2 separate regions of the Homo sapiens genome follow, and region 2 is linked to region 1. Evidence: promoter capture Hi-C in human tissues and cell types (Jung and others, 2019). All regions are on one chromosome and are shown on one strand. The core of a region is centred on a gene start or on the middle of the fragment in contact, and the rest is flanking DNA. Distances in the headings are between cores, read along the strand shown.

Region 1 (6,326 bases), core at 1,308-3,807:
TTTCCTGAGTTCGGCTAGAATAGCATGGGTAAAAGGTTCCATTGCTCGGGAGAGGAGGAGGAAGGGAAGAAGAAGAGGTATAGAAGCTTCCTTTTGATCCAAGGTCTTTTCCTCAATCCTGGCTAGAACCAGAATCCTAAAGGTTTCCTGACTACAGGTACATGCCACCATGCCCAGCTAATTTTTAAATTTTTTGTAGACAGAGGGCCTCACTATGTTTCCCAGGTTGGTCTTGAACCCCTGACCTCAAGCAATCCTCATGCCTTGGCCTCCCAAAGTGTTGGGATTACAGGCGTGAGCCACTACATCCCACCTGGGGTTTCTTAGTGATGATGAAACCTAGCCTTTATGTGGAAGACTTACAACTTTTTGAGGCCAGGAATTAGAGACCTTGTGCCATGAAAATAATTTGGTCCTTCCCTAGTACTCAATTTTTACTTCTCCTCTAAGGAGCTTGACTTGTGGAATGGATAAATTTCTAAGAAACGAGAGATTGGCAAAAATACGTGTCACTTTTTATAGTACTTGGAAAAGCAGGATCAAGATAAAGGCAGAACTATGGACTTTCTTAAGCTGAGGGAAGACTGACTTAACTCTTACCTGTTTCCCATTTTTCCAACACTTAAGCCAAGAACAACTTCCTCTGGGCTCAGATGTGGGCTAGACTGGGCCAGGCTGTAAAACACTTTGACAGGTTTTTGAGAGGAAATTGACTGCTAAAGTCAACTGTGTTATTTGCCATGGGTCTTCCTTTGTCCATTTATTTTACCAACTTTTTTTTTTCTTTTTTTTTTGAGACAGAGTCTCACTCTGTCACCTAGGGTGGAGTGCAGTGGCACAGTCTTGGCTCACTGCAACCTCTGCCTCCCAGGTTCAAGCGATTCTTCTGCTTTAGCCTCCTGAGTAGCTGGGACTACAGGCATGCACCACCACGCCTGGCTAATTTTTTGTATTTTTAGTAGAGATTGGGTTTCACAATGTTGGCCAGGCTCGAACTCCTGACCATGTGATCCGCCCACCTCGGCCTCCCAAAGTGCTGGGATTACAGGCAGGAGCCACCGCACCTGGCCTTTTTTTTTTTTTGAGACAGGGTCTCACTCTGTTGCCCAGGCTGGAGTACAGTGGCACAATCAAGGCTCATTGCAGCTTCAATCTCCCTAGCTCTGGTGATTGTCCCACCTCAGCCTCCCAAGTAGCTGGGACTACAAGTGTGCACCACCATGCTTGGCTAATTTGGCTAATTTAGTTTTTTTATTTTTGTAGAGACAGGGTTCTCTCCATGTTGCCCAGGCTGGTTTCAAACTCCTGAGCTCAAGGGATCTACCTGCCTCAGCCTCCCAAAGGGCTAGGATTATAAGCATGAGCCACCACACCTGGCTATTTTACCAACATTGATCAAGCTCTGGTTGAGCCTTGTACAGGATATTATAGGCTTTAAAAGAAGAAGAAGAAAGACCTGGTATGCTGTACAAAAAACTGCAAACCAGGCACGCAGATATAAGTGTTACAAGAATCCAGAAGAAGCAGCAAGGAGATGGGGCTAGGAGTTTGTAAGCAGGGAACTGTATCTGTAATATGTAAATGAAGTTACTGGGCATCTCTTCAATGGTCAGTGTGAGTGGAATGTGTGGGAAAATGTAGTGGTGAGAGGTGAGATAAAGAGAAGTAGACAGGGACGAAGTCACAGAGAGGACCGTGTTGGGAAGTTTGGACTCTCTATTCTGTAGGTAGATGAAGTATTTAAAAGAAGAGGCCATGATATAGTAATATTTGGTTTAATGTGGTATGGTTGTAGTGTGTGGCGGAAATTTGAGAGGAAGAATTGTCAACTTGCAGGGCAGCAGGGAAGCCATTTGTATTTAGCTAGAAGAACATGGATTGAAGCAATGGATGATGGATTTCAGAGCAATTTGTGAAGTAGAACCAGAATTTTGTCCGTCGAACTTGGGGTGACGAAGCACTATGCCTCAGATAAAGGTACTATCTTCTAGGGAATTCAAACGGACCTAAGCTGCTATTTGGGCAGTTGAGACCAAGAGAGGCATCCTGGTAATAGTGCTGTGCTTCAAGACAAAAGACATTAAAATATTTTTACATTGCAATTGTTTTCCTCTTCAGGAGCGCCTGGTTACCTTTCAGGAATAATTTATTTTCCAACACCCTTGAGAAACATTAAACCTTTTTTCTTTTTTTGATGTGGAAAACTGGAAAACTAGTACTTCCGCCACACTCAAGATGGCTACATCAGAAATAGACTTTTCCATCCACCTGGGTGGCCCCGCCCCCTTATGAAGCTGCTTCCGCCACTCTCTGCGGGTTGGGACGAATTTTACACTTCTTCGCAGCATTCAAGATGGTCCGGCTTCCTCCTACTTTTTATTGGCTGCATCGCTTCGTCTTCAGGGGAAGGCGGGACTTATATTTGATCGACAGCTACATTGATCAATGGACAAAGGGCAAAGGCCAATGAAGCGCTGGAACTGGAGAGTCTCTCGCGTGTCTGGGAGGGTGTTTTGCGCGGGGCGGGGTGGAGCAGAGCCGGAAGCGGGAGGGGAGCGTCAAACAGGAAAAGAAGGGAAGAAGGAAGAAGAGGGTAGAGGAGGAGAGGGAGGAGGAGGAGGGAGGTGGCGGCGCCGTGGCGGAGGAGCAGGAGCAGGAGGGGGATGGAGAGGAGAAGGCTCCTGGGTGGCATGGCGCTCCTGCTCCTCCAGGCGCTGCCCAGCCCCTTGTCAGCCAGGGCTGAACCCCCGCAGGTAAGGGGGAGGGGGCGTCTGGGCCATGTTGGGTCCTGGGGGTCGTCGAGGCCTGGCTGGAGGGGTCTGAAGGAGTGTTGTTGCCAAGAGTTGAGGGGTCCCGAGAGGGGCGTCTATGCCTGGCGTGGACAGGATCTAAAGGGGCGTCGGTATTTAGCTGAGGGACACCTGTGACAGTTTTGGTGTCAAGGAGGTGGCAGAGGCATGATGCCAAGCGAGTGAGGGGCGTTTGAGACGGCAGGTTGGTTAGGTGGGCTGGGGTGACTGTGGCTGGATAGCGGTGCCAAGCTGAGGATGTGGGCCTTATTCGTGTCCCTCTGTGGAGCAGGTGTCCCAGGCAGTAATGCAGTATGTACGTCTGTGTGTGTAGGGGTACACAGGCTATTGAGTTGGCCTGTGAGGGAGGGGATCCTGAGGATATTTCTTTAAGGATGGACTGGGGAAAGTTCCGAGGGCATCTTAGTACGTTTAAAAAAAATTACTATGTTCCTGGGAGAGACTTGGCCCCATTTTAAAATCTGTAAGCCATGGCGCACTTGGTTGGAGGGAGGACTCTCAGAAGGCAGGTGGGATGAAACAGAGTGGAACCCCTCAGGAGGAGGAGCACACTTGAGCTGTAACAAGCTCTTGCTGTTAGGCTGGCTGGCCTGGGAGAGCAAGTCACGGATGCTGATCTGAGCCAGCTCAGGGCTTTTGACCAGAGGGTGGTTCTGATGCCAATATGGGCAGCAAATGGAGCACCCTAGCTTTTCTTGCTGGGTGGCTTGCTCTTTATCCAGGCAGAGAAGCTTGCTTGTGCTGATTCCAGCTCCAGCTGGCATTTCAAAACCCTAATGGGAGCGTTACTCCTGGTGCCAAGTTGGGTGGGGTGCAGTGGGGGCAATCACCCCTCCTTCCTTGCATGTGGCAAAGCTTTATGATTCTTTTTTCTTCACTTTCTGTTCTTTTCCCCGTTTTTTCAGAAAGGCATACACACATAGACGCATAGCGTAGTGGCAAAGTTTATACAACTTAGCGCTTGAACTTGTGTTGTGAACAAGAGCAGAAACTGAGTGCCAGCAAAAATACTTATCTTTTCCCTAGGAGTTTTAGGGCTGCCTTTTCACAAATACATCTTGTTTTGCCCATTATCCTCTATTTTAAAATACTGATTAAAAAATAAGTTGAAATTCACATGACAAAAACCATTTTAAAGTGAACAATTCAGTGGCATTTAGTACACTTACAATGTTGTGCAACTACCACCTCTATCTAGTTCCAAAACATTTTCATCACCCCAATAGAAAACCTCGTCCCTACTAAGCAGTTACTCTCTGTCTCCCTTTTCCCCCAGCCCCTGGCAACCACCCGTCTGCTTTCAGTCTCTATGGATTTATCTATTCTGGATATTTTATATAAACGGGATCCTACAATATGTGGTCTTTGTGCCTGGCTCCTTTCACTTAGCGTAATGTTTATAAGGCCCATCCACATCGTAGCATGTACTAGTACTTCATTCCTGTTCATGACCAAGTAACATTCTGTTATCTGTAAACCACAATTTATTTATGCATTGAAGTGTCTAATTTTTCCTCAGGATATGTTTGTGTATACTAGAAATACCATGTGAAAGGAATGTAGCTCATTTTCTAGCCCAGTGTATTCCCTTTTCGAGGGTTGGGACCCTTCTGTTTTAGCCTTTGTTGGGGTTGTTTTTCCAGTGGAAATCATAAACTGGCAGAAGAAATATATTTTTTTTGTTTACTAGAAATGTTATAGCCCTCAGGACCAGTAAAGTTAAGTATAGGTATTGACAACAAAATATAGAATATAGTAAATACAGAATTTACTTTTCCTTTGCACATGTCTGTTTCTGTAAGTATCTCGAAAAGGCTGTCCCCAGTAACCAATAAATAACATCGGTAGAGGTTTGGTTTAGGAATGTCAGAGCCTTTGGAGATGGGCTGGTCAAAGATAGGAACTAGATCCACTTTTTCAGCAACGGGGATGATGGAAAGTGGAGGTTCCTACCAGGTCGTGGAGCCTGGGAGGTGTTGTGAACATGTGGAAGGGGATTGTTAATGTTATATTCTAATTGCAGTTTGCAAACCACAGGCTGCTTTCTTATATCTGTGGCACTTCTAATACTTAATTTTGGGGACAGGTGTCTTTTGTACTTTGTTCCATTTGGATGAATGCTATCACTGACCAACAGCTGTTACACGGTTACAATTCCTGCAGAGAAGGGAAAGTTTTCGTAATGAGCAGTGGCCCTCTTCCTAACCAGCCCCCACATACCCTCACTCCTGACGCTCCCTATACAATTCCATCCCCCACCTTATACTCCTGTCTCTTTCTGTCTGGGAGTACTAGATATCTATAGTGAGATTTCTGTTTTGAATTTTAACCTTCGGAATGCAAGTTACTATATAATTATTAACTCTGAATCCACCGCAATTTAGTCAGTGTATTTTTTTGGGTTTTTTTGGGGGGGGTGGGGGAAGGGGTTGCTTGTACAAATCAGTAAGGAAAAAAAAATCCCAAGGCCATTTTGGCACAGGGCATACTTTAAGTACCCATGGTCCTTAATTCAACAATGAAGTCCAGCTAACTTTGAATTCAGGAGGACTTACTATACTCATTCTGTATCGAATAATGGTATTGGTACCTTATTGCATTTCTCCCACAAAATTGATCTACTTACAATACAATCTTTTTTTTACATGCACAATCTTTTTTTTACATACACATTTACCATCAGAAATAAATGATACTAGGCAACTTGCTTTCCCTGTTACCAGCTCTGCACTGAAACAGCCATTTCTTGTTTATGCAGGCAGGCCCTGGAAAGTTCATCAGCTAGTTCATTCTGTGGTTAGGAACTTAGACTTAACTCTCCTACAGGTTATGACATTACAACTCACAGACGTGAATCCTTAAATCTATAAAGAATGAAAAAGGCTGGGCATGGTGGCTCACCCCTGTAATCCCAGCACTTTGGGAGGCCAAGGCAGGCAGATCACAAGGTCAGGAGATCAAGACCATTCTGGCCAACATGGTGAAACCCTGTCTCTACTAAAAATACAAAAATTAGCCAGGCATGGTGGCACACCTGTAGTCTCAGCTACTCGGGAGGCTGAGGCAGAAGAATCGCTTGAACGTGGGAGGTAGAGGTTGTGGTGAGCCAAGATCATGCCACTGCACTCTAGCCTGGTGACAGAGCGAGACTCCGTCTCAAAAAAAAAAAAAAAAAAAAAAGAATGAGAAAACAGTAGATGCTCCAAATAGTAAGGCTCCGACAGCCTTGGCGTTTGTTTCCTCCAGTTAAATTATCATTGAGATACATAGAGTTTCTTTTGGTTGTTTAGATTTAACCAGAATGTTTGTTTTTGTTGTTGTTGTTTTTGTTTTGTTTTTGAGACAGGATCTCACTCTGTTGCCCAGGCTGGAGTGTAGTGGTGTGATGTGATCTTGGATCACTGCAGCCTCGACCTCCCAGGCTCAAACGAGCCTCCCACCTCAGCCTCCTGAGTAACTGGGACTACAGGTGCATGCCACCACGCCCTGCTAATTTTTGTATTTTTCTGTAGAGAT
Region 2 (6,326 bases), core at 2,614-5,113, 580 kb after region 1:
GGCTCATTCCTTTGATCATACATACTCTTCTTTTCGAGATGGAGTCTCACTCTGCCGCCCAGGCTGGAATGCAGTGGTGGGATCTCGGCTCACTGCCACCTCCGCCTCCTGGGTTCAAGCGATTCTCCTGCCTCAGCCTCCTGAGTAGCTGAGACTACAGGCGTACCACCATGCCCAGCTAATTTTTTTTTTGTATTTTTAGTAGAGACGGGGTTTCACCATGTTGGCCAGGATGGTCTCGATCTCTTGACCTTGTGATGTGCCCGCCTCGGCCTCCCAAAGTGCTGGGATTACAAGCGTGAGCCACCGGACCTGGCCATACATACTCTTCTTTGCTACTAAGTTCTTTTTTTCTGTGTCTGGCAAATTCCTATTTGTTCTTCAAACCCATTCCTGAGTTAAATCATTCACTTTTGTGTTATCTCCACTGTTGCATTCATTACATCCTATTGTTAGTTAGTTGTTTACTTATATATCTTTCCTACAAAATTCTGAGTCCCCTGATGGCATGAATTTTGTCTCATCTTTGTACTCCTAAGGTCAAATACATAGACCCTCAATTTAGTAACAATATATAATAAATGGTATGGAAACATCATATATTAGTCCTTAAAAAATTATTTGGAAACTAAATTTAATAGAAGGCTTAATATCATACACCAAATAAGTAATAATAATAACCTAACTTTTTTGAGATGGAGTCTTGCTCTGTCGCCAGGCTGTAGTGCAGTGGTGCGATCTCGGCTCACCGCAACCTCCACCTCCTGGATTCATGTGATTCTCCTGCCTCATCTTCCCGAGTAGCTGGGACTATACAGGTGCATACCACCATGCCCAGCTAATTTTTGTATTTTTAGTAGAGATGGGGTTTCACCATGTGGGCCAGGATGGTCTCCATCTCTTGACCTCGTGATCCGCCCGCCTCAGCCTCCCAAAATGCTGAGATTACAGGTATGAGCCACCATGCCTGGCCAGCCTAACTTTTAAGATGGAATTAGTTATGGCAGGATTAACAAAATCAAATATCACATCTTATAGAAGAATTTTTAGTGATCAATGTGAGGTGTATGTTCTAAATTTCATCTCATAAAAGCAAAATAAGGTCTGAATATCAAACAAAGCAAAATACAATAAGACATCAAAGAGTAAATACCACTAAATCAACCACAGTAACCCTGAGACACTGGAGTCTCTATGAGAAAGAAACATATTTGGATAATTATTGATCTCTAAATTTTAAATGAACTTAAATCTTTCTTAAGAACACATGATGGCCGGGCGCGGTGGCTCACACTTGTAATCCCAGCACTTTGGGAGGCCGAGGTGGGCAGATTGCCTGAGGCTGGGAGTTCAAGACCAGCCTGGCCAACATGGAGAAACTCTGTCTACTAAAAAAACTAGAAAATTAGCCAGGCATGGTGGCGCATGCCTGTAATCCCAGCTACTCAGGAGGCTGAGGCAGGATAATCGCTTGAACCCAGGAGGCGGAGGTTGCGGTGAGCCGACATCATCGCACCATTGCACTCCATCCTGGGCAAAAACAGTGAAACTTTGTCTCAAAAAAAAAAAGATCTGTATTTTTTAAACTTTTGGAATTGTCTTGTTTTTAAAATTTGATCTGCCACAAAAAACTTTAAAGTTTAACAGTCCCGTGGGAATTACTCGTTCCTGTTAGTAAATAACCATAAATGAAGGTCACATATCTGTAAACCATGCACACATTTCCCACCTGGGACTAACTGGTTCAAAGAAAGTCAGCATAGCAGGCTCGTGACTGCAGGACACCAAGAATTGTAGTCTGATGACTAGCAAACCAGCTCAATGTTTTGTTCATATTAGAAGTAACTCTTAATTACTTACTCTACCTTAAATTTAGGCCTCAACAATTTTAGTCCCCAATTAATGGGTCTGTATATTTGATAATTCTAACATTTTGGTTAAATAATAATTTATGAACATTACCAGCTATACAGTAGCTGAGTGGTAGAATATTTATTTAGAGAGCCAAGAGCTGACAAAGAAAATTAAAGGTTGAAACAAATTTTATATCTTTCTTTTTGAGACAGGGTCTCATCATGCACTGCCGCCTTGACCTCCCAAGCTTAGGTGATCCTCCTACCTCAGGCTCCAGAGTAGCTGGGATTACAGGTATGAGCCTTTATATCATTTTATTTCAAAATGCTAAAAGCCTTAAATTCTATGATGTAAGCAAAAAAGAAACCCACATTTTTAGGTAACAAAATCAACTTAGAAGAGAAATACTGTACAAGATGGTGACTATATGTAATAATATATTGTAGGCTGGGCGCGGTGGCTCATGCCTGTAATCCCAGCACTTTGGGAGGCCAAGGTGGGCGGATCACGAGGTCAGGAGATCGAGATCATCCTGGCTAAATGGTGAAACCCTGTCTCTACTAAAAATACAAAAAATTAGCCAGGCGTGGTGGTGGGTGCCTGTAGTCGCAGCTACTCAGGAGGCTGAGGCAGGAGAATGGCATGAACCCGGGAGGCGGAGCTTGCAGTGAGCCGAGATCGCGCCACTGTACTCCAGCCTGGGTGACAGAGACTCCGTCTCAAAAACAAAGAAACAAACAATAATAATAATAATAATATATTGTAATTGCTGAATAGAAATTTCAAGTGTTTTCACCACAAAAAATGTGAGGTAATGGTATGTTAATTAGCTCAATTTTGCCATCCCACAATGTATACATATTTCAAAACATCATGTTGTATACAATAAATAGATATTATTTATTTCATTTCACTTTTTTTTTTTTTGAGACAGAGTCTCACTCTGTCACCCAGGCTGGAGTGCAGTGGCATGGTCTCAGCTCACTGCAACCTCCGCTTCCTAGGTTCAAGGGATCCTCCCACCTCAGCTTCCCAAGTAGCTGGGACTATAGGCATGTGCCACCACACCCGGCTAATGTTTGTATTTTTACTAGGGACAGGGTTACACCATGTTGGCCAGGCTAGTCTTGAACTCCTGACCTCAGGTGATCCACCCACCTCGGCCTCTGAAAGTGCTGGGATTACAGGGTGAGCCACCTTGCCTGGCCTTCACTTCACTTATTTTTATTTTTTTTGAGACAGTGTATTGCTGTCGCTCAGGCTCAGTGCAGTGGTGCAATCATGGATCACTGTAGCCTGGATCTCCCAGGCTCAACCCACCTCAGCCTCCCTAGGAGCTAGGACTACTAGGATTACAGGTGTGCGCTTAATTTTGTGTGCAGCTAATTTTGGTATTTTTTGTAGAGCTGGGGTTTCGCTATGTTGCCCAGGCTGGTCTCAAACTCCTGGGCTCAAGCTATCCATCCACTTTGGCCTCCCAAAGTGCTGGGATTACAGGTGCAAGCCACCACGGCCAGCCCAAAATATTTTGTTTCTGTCAATTAAAAAAACAGGCTGGGCACAGTGGCTCATGCCTGTAATCCCAGTACTTTGGGAGGCTGAGGCAGGAGGATCACTTGAGGCCAGGAGTTTGAGACCAGCCTGGGCAAAATGATGAAACCCCATCTCTACTAAAAAATACAAACAATTTAGCCGGGCATGGTGGCATGCACCTCTAATCCCAGCTACCTGGGAGGCTGAGGCAGGAGAATTGCTGGAACCCGGGAGGTAGAGACCGCAGTGAGTCAAGACTGTGCCACTGCACTCCAGCATGGGTGACAGAGCAAGACTCTGTATCACACACACACACAAAAAGTCCAGCCTGGGCAACACAGTATGTTATCCTTGCCACCAAAAAAAAAACAAAAAACAAAAAACAAAAAAAAAAACAACCCACAAAACACAAAACATACACACACACAGACACATAAATAGCCATAGAATAATCTGTATTCTAGAGAGGGTCCTCCTGGGTATCACTTCTTTTTCTATAATAAGGGCAAGTCTTCTGCTTTTAGAAATAACAGGCTGTTATGGGATCACTCATAATTCTTAATCCAGGAGTCACTAACCAGCTTTGTCTCTAACAAAAACCTAAGAATAACCTCAAGTGTGCTGTGGCTACAAGGTAAAAATAAGTCATTTCTAGTTTTCAGCTGCCATGAGATATAACCAGGATATGTCAAGCTCAGTTAGAGAAGTCATATTTCACTGGATTTAGTATATATTTACTACCAGTAAATATCGGTACTAAAAACACTAGCAAACTTTCAGTCACTTTTTTTTTTGAGTTGGAGTTTTGCTGTTGTTGCCCAGGCTGGAGTGCAGTGGCGCCATCTCGGCTCACTGCAACCTCCGCCTCCTGGGTTCAAGTGATTCTCCTGCCTCAGCCTCTCAAGTAGCTGGGATTACAAGCATGCGCCACCACGCCCGGCTGATTTTATATTTTTAGTAGAGATGCGGTTTACCATGTTGGTCAGACTGGTCTTGAACTCCTGACCTCAGGTGATCCACCTGCCTTGGCCTCCCAAAGTGTTGGGATTACAGGTGTGAGCCACCGCGTCCGGCCCCTTTTCTTTTTTTTGATATAGAGTCTCCCTCTTGTCGCCCAGGTTGGAGTGCAGTGGCATGATCTTGACTCACTGCAATCTCCACCTCCCGGGTAATAGCGATTCTCTTGCCTCAGCCTCCTGAGTAGCCAGGACTACAGGTGTGCGCCACCATACCTGGCTAATTTTTGGTAGAGACGGGGTTTCGCCACGTTGGCCAGACTGGTCTTGAACTCCTGACCTCAGGTGATCCACCTGCCTCGACCTCCCAAAGTGCTGGGATTACAGGCATGAGCCACTACACATGGCCAGTCACTGTTTTAACATATCTATTAATTTAACTAACAATACAGTATTTTATTATTTTATTTTACTATTTTTTTGAGACAGATTATCACTCTGTCGCCCAGGCTGGAGTGCAATGGCATGATCTAGGCTAACTGCAACCTCCGTCTCCCAGGTTCATGCAATTCTCCAGCCTCAGCCTCCCGAGTAGCTGGGATTACAGGAGTGTGCCACCATGCCAAGCTATTTTTCATTTTTTAGTAGAGACAGGGTTTCACCGTGTTGGCCAGGCTGGTCTCAAACTCCTGACCTCAAATGATCCACCTGCCTTGGCCTCCCAAAGTACTGGGATTATATAGGTGAGTCACTGTGCCCAGCCACAATACACAGTATTTTAGATAAAAAATTATTCTATAAAACTTAACACATGATGGAGAATAACAAAAAGGCTTTTTAAATTTGACTAATGAAAAAAAAAAAAAGAAAAAGCAAAGCTATATAAATGTTCATTTTTACTAACTGGACCACAGAACTAGAACTATGAGTATATTTTACTTTTATGTTCAATGATACATGAAGTTTGAGGTTTCCATCGTACAACAAGAAGAAAATATTATGGCTGGGCGCGGTGGCTTATGCCTGTAATCCCAGCACTTTGGGAGGCCGAGGCGGGAGGATCACGAGGTCAGGAGATGGAGGCCAGCCTGACCAACAACATGGTGAAACCCCGTCTCTACTAAAAATACAAAAATTAGCCAGGTGTGGTGGCACAGGCCTGTAATCCCAGCTACTCAGGAGCCTGAGGCAGGAGAATCACTTGAACCCGGGAGGCGGAGGTTGCAGTGAGCCGGGACCGCCCCACTGCACTCCAGCCTGGGCAACGGAGTGAGACTCCGCCTCAAAAAAAAAAAAAACCAAAAAAAAAAAAAAAGAAAATATTACATAGCTAGAACAGGAGATCTCTTTTAATCCATAAAAAAAACTAATAGGGTCAGCTGGGCATGGTGGCTCACGCCTGTAATCCCAGCACATTGGGAGGCCGAGGTAGGCGGATCACCTGAGGTCAGGAGTTCGAGACCAGCCAGACCAATATGGAGAAACCCCATCTCTACTAAAAATACAAAATTAGCCTGGCATGGTGGCACCTGCCTGTAATCCCAGCTACTCAGGAAGGCTGAGGCAGGAGAATCGCCTGAACCCGGGGGGCGGAAGTTGCAGAGAGCCGAGATCACGCCATTGCACTCCAGCCTGGGCAACAGAGTGGGACTCAGTCTCAAAATAATAAATAAAATAAAATAAAATAAAATAAAATAAAATAAAATAAAATAATAGGGTCCCTATTAGATAAAAATATTTCACTTCTCTAGGTGTCCTGAGCTTTGCTTGTTTTTTTGTTTGTTTTGTTTTGTTTTGAGACGGAGTCTCGCTCTGTCGTCCAGGCTGGAGTGCAGTAGCGCAATCTTGGCTCACTGTAACCTCTGCCTGCCAGGTTCAAGCAATTCTCCTGCCTCAGCCTCCTGAGTAGCTGGGATTACAGGTGTGTGCCAACAGGTCCGGCTAATTTTTGTATTTTTTAGTAGAGATAGGGTTTCACCATGT

What was found. The method cuts DNA at HindIII sites, captures the fragments that hold promoters and counts their contacts. A contact is called where the count stands out against the background at its distance.
Region 2: a contact is called between a fragment that was not itself captured here and the fragment with the promoter of WBP1L in region 1, in 1 of the 25 tissues and cell types used here (mesendoderm cells).

What each region holds. Positions count from the first base shown.
Region 1 is chr10:102,741,391-102,747,716 of GRCh38, forward strand. WBP1L (WW domain binding protein 1 like) reads left to right here and starts at 2,558. Exons shown (of 4, transcript NM_001083913.2): 1 at 2,558-2,753. The coding sequence starts at 2,664. SFXN2 (sideroflexin 2) reads left to right here. Exons shown (of 12, transcript NM_178858.6): 12 at 1-2,102. RefSeq lists enhancers at 2,205-2,254, 3,195-3,424 and a silencer at 2,535-2,694. The HindIII fragment of the contact is 7,220 bases long and covers 1-5,633 here.
Region 2 is chr10:103,319,133-103,325,458 of GRCh38, forward strand. The region is part of intron 8 of PCGF6 (polycomb group ring finger 6); the gene reads right to left. Among named protein-coding and RNA genes, the nearest start is that of PCGF6, 29 kb to the right of the region's middle. The HindIII fragment of the contact is 7,312 bases long and covers 208-6,326 here.